Linked DNA regions of Homo sapiens: region 1 is linked to region 2. Evidence: promoter capture Hi-C in 16 types of primary human blood cells and fetal thymus (Javierre and others, 2016). All regions are on one chromosome and are shown on one strand. The core of a region is centred on a gene start or on the middle of the fragment in contact, and the rest is flanking DNA. Distances in the headings are between cores, read along the strand shown.

Region 1 (5,443 bases), core at 232-2,731, 950 kb before region 2:
GGTTATCATTTTTGTCCAGCTTTTAAGTATTTTTTTCCTTTAAGAACTAATCTCAAGTGGTAAGTAGAAAAAAACCTCTAAATAATACATATCTCTTTTTATCTAAAATAAGTTCTGACCTACTCAATCTATTTTAAAGATTTTATACCAACCAGAAGTTACTTGATTTTAAGTAACAAGGACTAGACAAATTGCTGTCAACCATCATCTATACTACATTCTAACCAATAAAACAAATAGTCTTTAAAAATAGCCCATTACTATCTAGAATAGAATATAAATACTGATGATTTCCTTGGAAAGAAAACAATTATATTAACTTTCTTACCACTGGAACTAAAAAACTTAAGAATAAAAAAAAAATCTTCCCACTCCTAACACTTAAGATATAGTATCCTTTTTGTTTTTATGCTGGGCTTTTGTGTGCTTTTAAGCTTTCTGCTAACTTATTAGTATTATGTATTTATTGACTTTGAAGTGGTTTTAGATATGCAACTGCACCTAAATCACCTTTTTACCACCAAGTAATCACTATTGCCCCTAAATATCTTATAGTCCACAAAGAAGTCAAATTTACCTCAAATTTAGAAAAGCAAACAAATGTTTCCTACATATAGCAAGGTGTTCAGAAATGAGCAAAAAATGTTGACAAAGAATGGTTTAAAAATGATTAGGAATTTGTATTACTAAACATCAATAAAAATAGTGACTCTTGGTAAGATACTAATGGTAAAAAAAAGTCTGCCACTTAAAGTCCTCACAAAACGGACTGATGCAGACCGTAGACATTAAAATTAACCCACCTCCCTGTACCTAATTAGGGGTCTTGTTTTGGGAAGCAAGGATCTAAAATCTTTTATGCCAATTATATTAGCTTTTTGAAGTTAAAGAATCCTATAAAATACCACTCTGATATTTAGTTAGCAAGAAGAACATCCAGCTTTGGGGTATCAACATGGATGGATGACTAAAAACAAGACTGGGGAATATGGAAACAGCCATCCATTCTTGATTAGAGTTCGCTTCCATTACCAAAACTATACATTTACTTTACTAATCAGGATAAGAAAAATTTGGCTTAGCGCCTCTATTTACTTTGCTTTTGTGAATGTGTACAATCCACGTGACTCTAAATCTCCTAAGATGGGCACTAATTATGCTTGATGAATATATTCTCATCTTAAATGCCAGCAAATGTACCCCAAGCAAATAAATGATGGGGACAACAAGGTTATCTAATATCTCTATTTCAGATAATTCTACCTAAAAATTAAAGCCAATTTTAAAGTATTAAAAAAAAAAGAAAAGAAAAGAGAAACCTAAATAAGCTTAAATAAACTGCTTCTTATAAATGTAATACAGACATGCCGGAACACACAAGGCTAAAAGAATGTTAACTTTATTTATGAACATGTGATTTGTGTTTATACACATGCTAATAAACAAAAAGGAAATAACTGTTTTCAAGAAATAAAACTTCATCTGAATTAGTTTAAATACTATATAAACTGTACTTTATACAAAATGTGTTACATTAACTACTACAGTCACCAGGATAGTCAATCTAATTTATGCTAGCATTTGGATACATAAAAATCAGTTTTAAACCAATCACCAGCAAAACATAAGCTTGGACAGTTTTTACAGCATTATGCTTAAAAAAAAAAAACAAAAAAACAAAAAAAAACACCCCATATCCAAAAAGAGGAAAAAAAAACCCCAAACACTAAGACTTTTGATCTTAGAATCACTGTATTTAGTTCCACAAGAACTAAAGGCCATATACTCTAAAGAACAAGTCCAATGTTCAGATATTCTATATTATCATGTTTAAGATCCAATGATCCAAGGTTAGTGAAATGCCTCATATACAAAGAGCAATAGTATTTAAAAAGTATATAATGTGAAATAGCAAGCAATACCCTTGAATTCTAAATGAAGATTTTAGACATCTTGCATTGTGTACAATATCAAGCCTGGGCATTAAAATGTTTAGAGAACCATTACATTTACAGAACCCAATTATGATAGACCTGTGTTATGAAACAGATGCTTCACCCCACAACTTAGGAATGCTGCTACTTTTTACTTAAGAGCTCAAAGTTAAAATGGTATCACAAATTAAGTTAATCTGTGATTACAAAAATTAAGCTTAACTTTCTTCAAACCAGTTATCCTGGTTAAGGGGAGTTACCTCTGATAAGGTACAGCTTTCAATGGCCTAAAATTAACGCAGCATTTTAGTATAAGAGGGAAATATTTTAATTTGGACATCTGCACTAACTAGATAGAAGTGGAAGATCTCATTAAACTTTGAAAACAATATAATCAGTTTATATAAACTCAAAATCACTAAGACACTTATATATTCATAGGGGGCCCCAGGTTCAGGTTTCACTTTATAGTACAGATGTAAACAAAAGAAGGAGCTCAAAATGCCAAATAAAGCAAGACTAAATAATAAAGCTGCATCAATGGTCTCTGGAAAGCTCTTTTCTATGATGTGTTTGAACTTGGAGAAAGCATCAAACTTTAATATAAGCTTTGCATGTTGCTAATGCGTTTTTGGAAGCCATAAATCAGGCAGGAAAAAAAAAACTAACAAAAACTAAGTGATACAACGTGAAAATGGCAAAATATACACTCCAAACATTTTTTATTGCAAGAAACAAAAAGCACACAACAGCCTGTACATACATACAAAATACTAACTATAGACAGACAAATGTAGAACATGTCATCATGTTCCTTAGTGTAAAACCTAAACGATCTAAAAAGGATCATACATTAACTGTACAACACAGTGTCATACAGGGATAATGCTATCATATTTAATATGAAACAGTGTTACGGGCACAAATTACCCATTTCTACAAAATAAGTGTGCAAGTGATGCCACATATTATCCATATTCAACTGAGCTGTCATCAAAATACATTTTATTTACAATATGTACTATGATCAGTTGGATATTAAGTTCTAAAATGATTTACTTCACTGCTACATTATAAAGGTAAAAGCAATGTGTAGAAAAAGTGTGAGATTGTGTTTTTACATACTGCTTTTGTAGTTGCCATCGCTGGTTCAGTTCGACTTCTAAAACACAAAATAAAAACAAAAATTAACATTAGCTATTTATGAATTTTTGTGCTAATAAATTTTAACACATTATCTTCAATAATACATTTTTAGGAACCTAATTTTCCTTTGGTATAAATATTTAACAGCCAATTTCTGAATGAATAAATTACTCTGATTAATCTTTACCACCTTTGAGCAGTTTTAAGATAGATTTGTGGTTTGGAAAAAAATTCCATACTAGGGAATTCAAAAATAGGTGTACCCTGCCACTTAAAACAAATGTTTTCTGAAAGGTAGTATAGGGATTTTATGTTTAGAAACGTAGTTTATTCTTAATAAACTGAAAATTTTAAATTATATAATTTCCCAGTTTCTGAATGCGTAAATTTTCACACATCAGGAAGACTGCTGTTGTTAACATTTGTAATTTGAATCCCTGAGAAATTGCTGTGCTCCCAAAACTAATTTTCAAATCTGGAGGGCCAGGCTGATAGCTATTTTCATTTTTCAAATGTCTCAAAACAACAATCAAGGATTGAACAAGAGGCCAAGGTGAGAGGATCACTTGAGCCCAGGAGTTTGAGACTAACCTGGGCTGTAACATAGTGACCCCATCTCTTAAAAACAGAAAAAAAAAAAAAACTGAACAAAAATTCTCACTCCCAGAAAAACACAATATAATCAGAGTATTTTAGTTAAAAGAACTGACTTAAATGGCTGTGTAGAACTGGACAATTTGATGTTTAAAAGACATAAACCCCAAAAGAAATTATTTTAATCCACACAGGAAAGGGGAAGAAGTTGAGTTGCTAGATTATAGCCTTTTAATGCTTAAAGTTTAAGGTATCTTGACTATAGAGAAATGTTAGCATCTAACAGGAGTTTCTAGGTGTGTGTATAATTTGGAATTTGAGATAAAAAAAAAACTGAGCTTTGATTTTCTAGTATTTGCTCAAAAAAAAACTGAGATGCATTTTATGAGGCAAATTTATTACAAACAGAACCCTATATATTGTACATTAACATATAATTCTGTGTAAGAGGCAACTTATTTTGCCATGTACTTCAAATAATTCTTAAGAGTTTCTATCAAAAAATCTACAGAAAATACATTTGCCATTTTTTAAAAAGCACTTGGTAAATTAAAGTAAAATTTCACACTGGATTGTAGGAATTAATTCTCCCCATAAATTTATAATTCTTAGGCTGGGTGCGGTGGCTCACGCCTGTAATCTCAGTACTTTGGGAGGCCAAGTTGGGTGGATCACCTGAGGTCAGGAGTTTGAAACCAGCCGGGCCAACATGGTGAAACCCAGTCTCTACTAAAAATCCAAAAATTGGCCAGGCTTGGTGGTGGGCACCCATAATCCTGGCTACTTGGGAGGCTGAGGCAGGAGAATCGCTTGAGCCCGGAGGCTACAGTGAGCCAAGATTGTGCCACTGCACTCCAGGCTGGGCAACAGAGTGAGACTCCATCTCAGGAAAAAACAAAACAAAACAAAACAATATATATATATACACACATATATATATAATTCTTAGAATCATTTAAAGTTAAGAACACACACCATTAAAAGTTCACTTGGCAATTACAACAAGGAAAGTATTCAGCTTTTTAAAGTAGCTATTATATGGAAGATACTGCACAAAAGGACCTCTAAGTGTTAAGATATGGAATATAACTTTACAACAAACTAATGAGAAAAATCTTAGAATACTTGCCCATATGAGGTAAAGCTCCAAGAAATGACTTTATTTTTACCTTAATTTCAAGAACACTTTCCATTCCCTAGCACTGGCAAATTCTAGAATTTTTCATTGACTCAAAATAATTTGTTCCAATTTCAAACAATACTACCTAATTCTAAGTGAAAATCACTACTCTTTAAATAACCTATGTTGCTGCCCTTTTCACATATTATAGTTCTGCTATCACTACTGAAATTGCAAGAAAGCAGAGAAAGTTAAGGATATAAGGTTTTAATCCTGCCCCAGGTTAGTGAATACCAGCTCCGGACTAGTTGTGAGACTGCTCTCTTCCTACTCCAATAATGTGCATTTAGCATGTGCCAGACACTATTTAATTCTTACAACCCTCTAGAGTTAAGTACTCACGTCCCTATTTTATTTTTGAGGAATCTGAGGCACAGAGACTTACCCAAGGTCCAAAGTCACACAACTGGTATGAAGCAGTAAATGGAGTCAAATCTAAGCCTGATTTCAGTGCCCATGATTATAAATCCTATATACTTTATGCCTCTCAGCCAAAGCCCCTTATTGATAAAGAGTAAATGTTAGCATTACTGAATACTCTTGATGCTGTCAAAATATTTAGGACCGATGTCTACAACACCAAATTTTT
Region 2 (6,068 bases), core at 2,679-5,178:
GAGGGGGATGTGTCAGGGTCACAAGACAATTGTGGGGAGAGGGTCAGCAGACAAACACGTGAACAAAGGTCTTTGCATCATAGACAATGTAAAGGATTAAGTGCTGTGCTTTTAGATATGCATACACATAAACATCTCAATGCTTTACAAAGCAGTATTGCTGCCCGCAGGTCCCACCTCCAGCCCTAAGGCGGTTTTTCCCTATCTCAGTAGATGGAGCATACAATCGGGTTTTATACCGAGACATTCCATTGCCCAGGGACAGGCAGGAGACAGATGCCTTCCTCTTGTCTCAACTGCAAGAGGCATTCCTTCCTCTTTTACTAATCCTCCTCAGCACAGACCCTTTACGGGTGTCGGGCTGGGGGACGGTCAGGTCTTTCCCTTCCCACGAGGCCATATTTCAGACTATCACATGGGGAGAAACCTTGGACAATACCTGGCTTTCCTAGGCAGAGGTCCCTGTGGCCTTCCGCAGTTTTTGTGTCCCTGGGTACTTGAGATTAGGGAGTAGTGATGACTCTTAAGGAGCATGCTGCCTTCAAGCATCTGTTTAACAAAGCACATCTTGCACCGCCCTTAATCCATTCAACTCTGAGTTGACACAGCACATGTTTCAGAGAGCACGGGGTTGGGGGTAAGGTCACAGAATCTCAAGGCAGAAGAATTTTTCTTAGTACATAACAAAATGGAGTCTCCTATGTCTACTTCTTTCTACACAGACACAGTAACAATCTGATCTCTCTTGCTTTTCCCCACATGTAACAGCTTGTCTATGAAAGGTAGGAGGAATGGTATTAGAGATCTATAAAGGGTCAGCGGAGGGTCCTCTTACTTTGTTTTTAGGCTAAGAGGAACTTTGATGTGTTTATGGGTTCAGGAGAAAGAGCCAGAAGAGAGACCTTTGAGATGTAGGGAAGAAGAGCTAACTGGTGGTATAAGGTCCCATTGGGAATAAGAGGGGATGAGACTACCGTGCAAATGGGCTGGCAGAGGGAGCGATCATGGTGGGTTGGTGGGATAGTTTGTGCTGGGAAGCTGACAGCTTTTATGCTTATCCATCCTTTGATGGGAATGTTACTGAAAAGCACCGGTGTTGTCTTTTAACTCTTCCTCATCTGCTAAGGATGTGATCTTAATATTGGGACTTTTACCCTACAGGCCATGTAGGCTGATATTTTGTCTTTATTTGTTTGCTGAAGGGAAAAGTAGCTCTCCCAAATTATTTAAATAAGAGATGATTTGTTATGTTTTACCAAAAGGATTAAATGTAACACTGAGGCCGGGTGCAGTGGCTCACGCCTGTAATCCCAGCACTTTGGGAGGCCGAGGCGGGCAGATCATGAGGTCAGGAGTTTGAGACCACCCTGGCTAACACGGTGAAACCCCATCTCTATAAATACATACATACATACATATATACATACATACGTGTAACACTGAAAGACTAGATAGGTCATGGGAAGAGATGGCCCCAATTGTGAACTTAGTAGGATTAGGTTCTTCCTAAGCTAAGAGCTACATTTTTTTGGGAAACAGAGTCTCACTCTGTTGCCCAGGCTGGAGTGTAGTGGTGTGATCATAGCTCACTGCAGCCTTGACCTCCTGGGCTCAATTGGTCCTCCCACCTCAGCTTCCCAAGCAGCTGGGACCACAGACATGCATCACCATGCCTGGCTAATTTTTTAAATTTTTTATGGAGACAAGGTCTCCCTGTGTTGCCTAGGTTGATCTCAAACTCCTGGGCTCAAGCGATCCACCTCCCTTGGCCTCCCAAAGTGCTGGGATTACGGAGGTGAGCCACTGAACCAGGCTTGCCTGTCTGGCTTGCTCACAGTTGCAGCCTCAACAATTAGTACGTAACAGATACTCAATTTTTTTTTGAGACTTTTTTGAGATGGAGCTTCACTCTTGTTGCCCAGGCTAGAGTGCAATGGCGCGATCTCAGCTCCCTGCAACCTCTACCTCCCGGGTTCAAGCAATTCTCCTGTCTCAGCTTCCTGCCTCCTGAGTAGCTGGGATTACAGTCACCTGCCACCACACCCAGCTAATTTTTGTATTTTTAGTAGAGACGGGGTTTCACCATGTTGTCCAGGTTGGTCTCAAACTCCTGACATCAGGTGATCCACCTGCCTCAGCCTCCCAAAATGCTGGGATTACAGGTTTGACCCACCATGCCTGGCCCCCAGACACTCGAGTTTTAAAGGAATGCTATAATAAATAGAAATTATTTTACAACAGTGGGATGAAACTATGTTTTTTTTGTTTTCGTTTTTTTTTTTTGAGATGGAGTCTTGCTCTTTTGCCAGCCTGGAGTGCAGTGGCGCAATCTCGGCTCACTGCAACCTCTGCCTCCCAAGTTCAAGCGATTCTCCTGCCTCAGCCTCCTGAGTATCTGGGACTACAGGCGCGCACCACCACACCCAACTAATTTTTGTATTTTTAGTAGAAATGGGGTTTCACCATGTTGACCAGGATTGTCTCGATCTCTTGACCTCGTGATCCACCCACCTTGGCCTCCCAAAGTGCTGGGATTACAGGTATGAGCCACCGCGCCTGGCAGCATACCATTACATTTTATTTTACTTGGATTTAACAAAAATAAAAAGAAATTGAGGTAAAACTGGTGACATTATTGGATCATTCATTCAGGCAGATTTCAGAATTTGGAGTCATTATCCCGTGTGTTTCCATTTCAGTCAATATCCTTTAGCTCCCTGCTTAGAAATAGGAATTAGCCTTCTTAAACTCCTCCCTCGCTTACCTATTTTTGTTAGCTATTGTAAGGAACATGGCTGTGCTTTGGTCAAGGATAGGCCAAGGTAAGATGTTTACATCCTGCGTGACTCAGCAAGTTTAGACAGAGGCGTATAACTCCACTTGTTATCACAGCCATGTAGGCATAACATGGGAAGGTCATCACTTGGCTCTAAGCCACTATTTTCTGTAAAAGGTATAATTGCCCTGCTGATACTGTACAGGCGTTCGTGCCCAGAGAAAGAGAGAGCCAGAGCTGTCAGTCTTTGCAGACAGACAGGGGGAGCCAGATCACAGCTGAGAGAGAGTTAAGCTGCTGACCCTGAAGGCAAGGGAGAGCCAGCCTCGCAGTTGTGTGGGGGAGCCATGGGACTAAGCAGCTGAGACAAGGCAGACAGTGTGAGAGAACTAGTGTAAGTAAGCTGCTGATGAGAGCTGCTGCTGAATAAAATCATCTTTCACCTGCCTACCGTCCCCTGAGTGTTCTTTCAGCTATCTGTTCATCCACCCACTCCCCTCAGACCTCGATATGGGCTGGAACCTGGCTGTGGGCATGACAGTTGGCATAGTCGTGGACCTGACAGCTATATTATACACTGTCAAGTTTTAAAACATGTATATTGTTTTAATCGTAATTCTCACATTTATTAGTCTTAGGTATTGAAATTGATTATTTTTTCACATTATTATATATATTTTTTTACCTATTCAATAAATGTTAATACTTGTGGAAGAATTGTGGAATCAAAACTTTGTCCTTTTTTTCTTTTAATCTTTTTTGTAATAGAGACGGAGTCTTGCCGTGTTGGCCAGGTTGGTCTTGAACTCCTGAGCTCAAACAGTCCTGCCACCTTGGCCTCCCAAAGTGCTAGGATTAAAGGCGTCAGCCACCGCACCCGGCCCCAAACGTTTAAACAGATGTATTTCAGAACTTTCAGATAAAAAATGAAAGTAGGTTTCTCGTGCCGTGTCGTTTAGGGAAAGACGGCGACGTCTGCACAGTTTAGTTGTGACACCAAGCAGTTGTTCGTCCCCGAACCTGGATGGGCTCCGAGGGCGCAGTGCCTCCAGGAGCCGCCAGGGGCCGCCACCGCCGGCGGTGCCCGACAGCGCTGCCGTGTGCGTCGCCTGCGCGCCGCCGGAAAGGAACCCTGGTCCGGAGGCGGCGGCGCAGTGCATCCTGGGTTGGCGTAGCCATGGCGTCTCGTGTCCTTTCAGCCTATGTCAGCCGCCTGCCCGCGGCCTTTGCGCCGCTGCCCCGGGTCCGGATGCTGGCCGTGGCCCGGCCTCTCAGCACCGCTCTCTGCTCCGCGGGGACCCAGACGAGGCTCGGGACTTTGCAGCCGGCCTTAGTGCTCGCGCAGGTGACTCGTGGTGACTTTGCTGCCGCTTGGCAAGGGTCAGGGATTGGGCCCGGTGGGGGTGGGGGCCGGGCATCCGGGGCGCGCCAGCTGCAGGCAGGGGTGACCCGGGGGGCAGCCGGCTCGCTCCGCAGCCCCGCTGCCTAAAGGTGTTTAGTTGACCCCTGACGGGAGGCCGGGTGACCTCGTAATAACGAGCAAGAGCACTGACTCGAGTCCAGCACTGCTGGGCTGCCGCTTACCGAAACTTTGGACAAGTCTCCTAGCCTGGCTCACACTCACCTGCAAAATTGGGATCCTGGTCTCTACCTTGCGGAGTAGCAATGAGGATTAGATGAGTTAATGCGGCTAGAGCACCTCGTACGGTCTCAAAATAGCGGTCACCGTATTGTAGTGAAAGCAGCATGCAAAGAGGCAGCCACACTGGCCTACAGCCTTCTCCAGAGCGGTTTTCTCTCTGCAGTTCTGTCCTTACTCTTCCCTGCAGCACCTTCTGCCTGTGTCCAGGACTCCTGGAAGTAATTCTAGGAAACAAGCCAAGTGACCTTTGACCAATAAGGATTTGAATTGCGCGGGTCCACTTATATGCGGATTTTTTTTCAACCAAACGCGACCAGTATTTACGGGATGTGCCGCCCCGCGTATAAGGAGGGCAGGCTCTTCCTATAAGCGGATTCTGCAAGGCTGACTGCGGGACGTGAGTGTGCGGGGATTTGGGTATAGTCGGGGGTCCTGGAACCAATCTGCGCAAATACCAAGGAACGACTGTACCTGTAGTATATAGCTTGAGCTGATGAAATCTGCGTGAGGCTGAAACGCCGGGAGGCAGTGATTTCGGTGTTGTTGTTGTTGTTTTTGAGACAGAGTCTCGCTCTGTCACCCAGGCTGTAATGCAGTGGCGTGATCTCAGCTCACTGCAACCTCCGGCTAACGGCAACCTCCGCCTCTCAGGTTCAAGCAATTCTCCTCCCTCAGCCCCCCCGAGTATTTGGGACTACAGGCGCCCGCCACCATGCCCGGCTAAGTTTTGTATTTTTAGTGGAGACGGGGTTTCATCATATTGGCCAGGTTGGTCTTGAACTCCCGACCTCGCAATCCACCCGCCTCGGCCTCCCAAAGTGCTGGGATTACAGGCGTGAACCACCGCGCCCTGCCTTTTTTTTGTTGTTTTCTAAGTTCTCCAGATGACTCTGAAGTGCAGTTGGGAATAAAAATAACCGTCTTAAGGTAGGATAGACTCCCAAGGTCAAGTTATGAAACCCCTTTTCAAAGTCATAGACTTCAGGTAATAGTGGTTTCAACCTTGACTGCATGTTAGTGTGAAAAATAAGTGTGTCTGGCCAGGCGTGGTGGCTCACGCCTGTAATCCCAGCACTTTGGGAGGCCGAGGCGGGCGAATCGCTTGAGCCCAGGAGTTTGAGACCCTCCTAGGCAACATGGTGGAACCCCGTCTCTACAAAAAATACAGAAATTAGGCCGGGCGCGGTGGCTTATGCCTGTAATCCCAGCACTTTGGGATGCCGAGGCGGGCGGATCACGAGGTCAGGCGATCGAGACCATTCTGGCTAACACAGTGAAACCCCGTCTCTACTAAACATACAAAAAATTATCCGGGCGTGGTGGCACGCGCCTGTAGTCCCAGCTACTCAGGAGGCTGAGGTGGGAGGATCGATTGAACCCAGGAGGCAGAGGTTTTAGGGAGCTGAGATGATGCCACTGCACTCCAGTCTGGGAGGCAGACCGTCTTAAATAAGCCAGCCAGCCCGTGCCAGATCGACAGAATCTAGAAGTGAGTACTAGGCGACTATTTTTAGAAGTCATCAAGTGTTTCTTTTGTGAAGCCAGTGTTGCTGTTCACTGACAGTGTAATGGATTCATTCATTGGGCACTGCCCTGTTGGCTGTATCAAAAGGTGAAAAGTGTCACCTTGAAATTAAGGGTTAAAGGCCA

The links. The method cuts DNA at HindIII sites, captures the fragments that hold promoters and counts their contacts. A CHiCAGO score of 5 or more calls a contact.
Region 1: a contact is called between a fragment that was not itself captured here and the fragment with the promoter of NDUFAB1 in region 2, in 1 of 17 cell types (M1 macrophages). The highest score is 5.5, in M1 macrophages.

What each region holds. Positions count from the first base shown.
Region 1 is chr16:24,546,598-24,552,040 of GRCh38, reverse strand. It overlaps RBBP6 (RB binding protein 6, ubiquitin ligase), which reads right to left. Exons shown (of 18, transcript NM_006910.5): 3 at 3,060-3,096. Among named protein-coding and RNA genes, the nearest start is that of RBBP6, 9.8 kb to the right of the region's middle. The HindIII fragment of the contact is 301 bases long and covers 1,331-1,631 here.
Region 2 is chr16:23,594,176-23,600,243 of GRCh38, reverse strand. It overlaps NDUFAB1 (NADH:ubiquinone oxidoreductase subunit AB1), which reads left to right and starts at 3,928. Exons shown (of 5, transcript NM_005003.3): 1 at 3,928-4,121. The coding sequence starts at 3,954. RefSeq lists silencers at 4,181-4,270, 6,016-6,068. The HindIII fragment of the contact is 11,223 bases long and covers 1-6,068 here.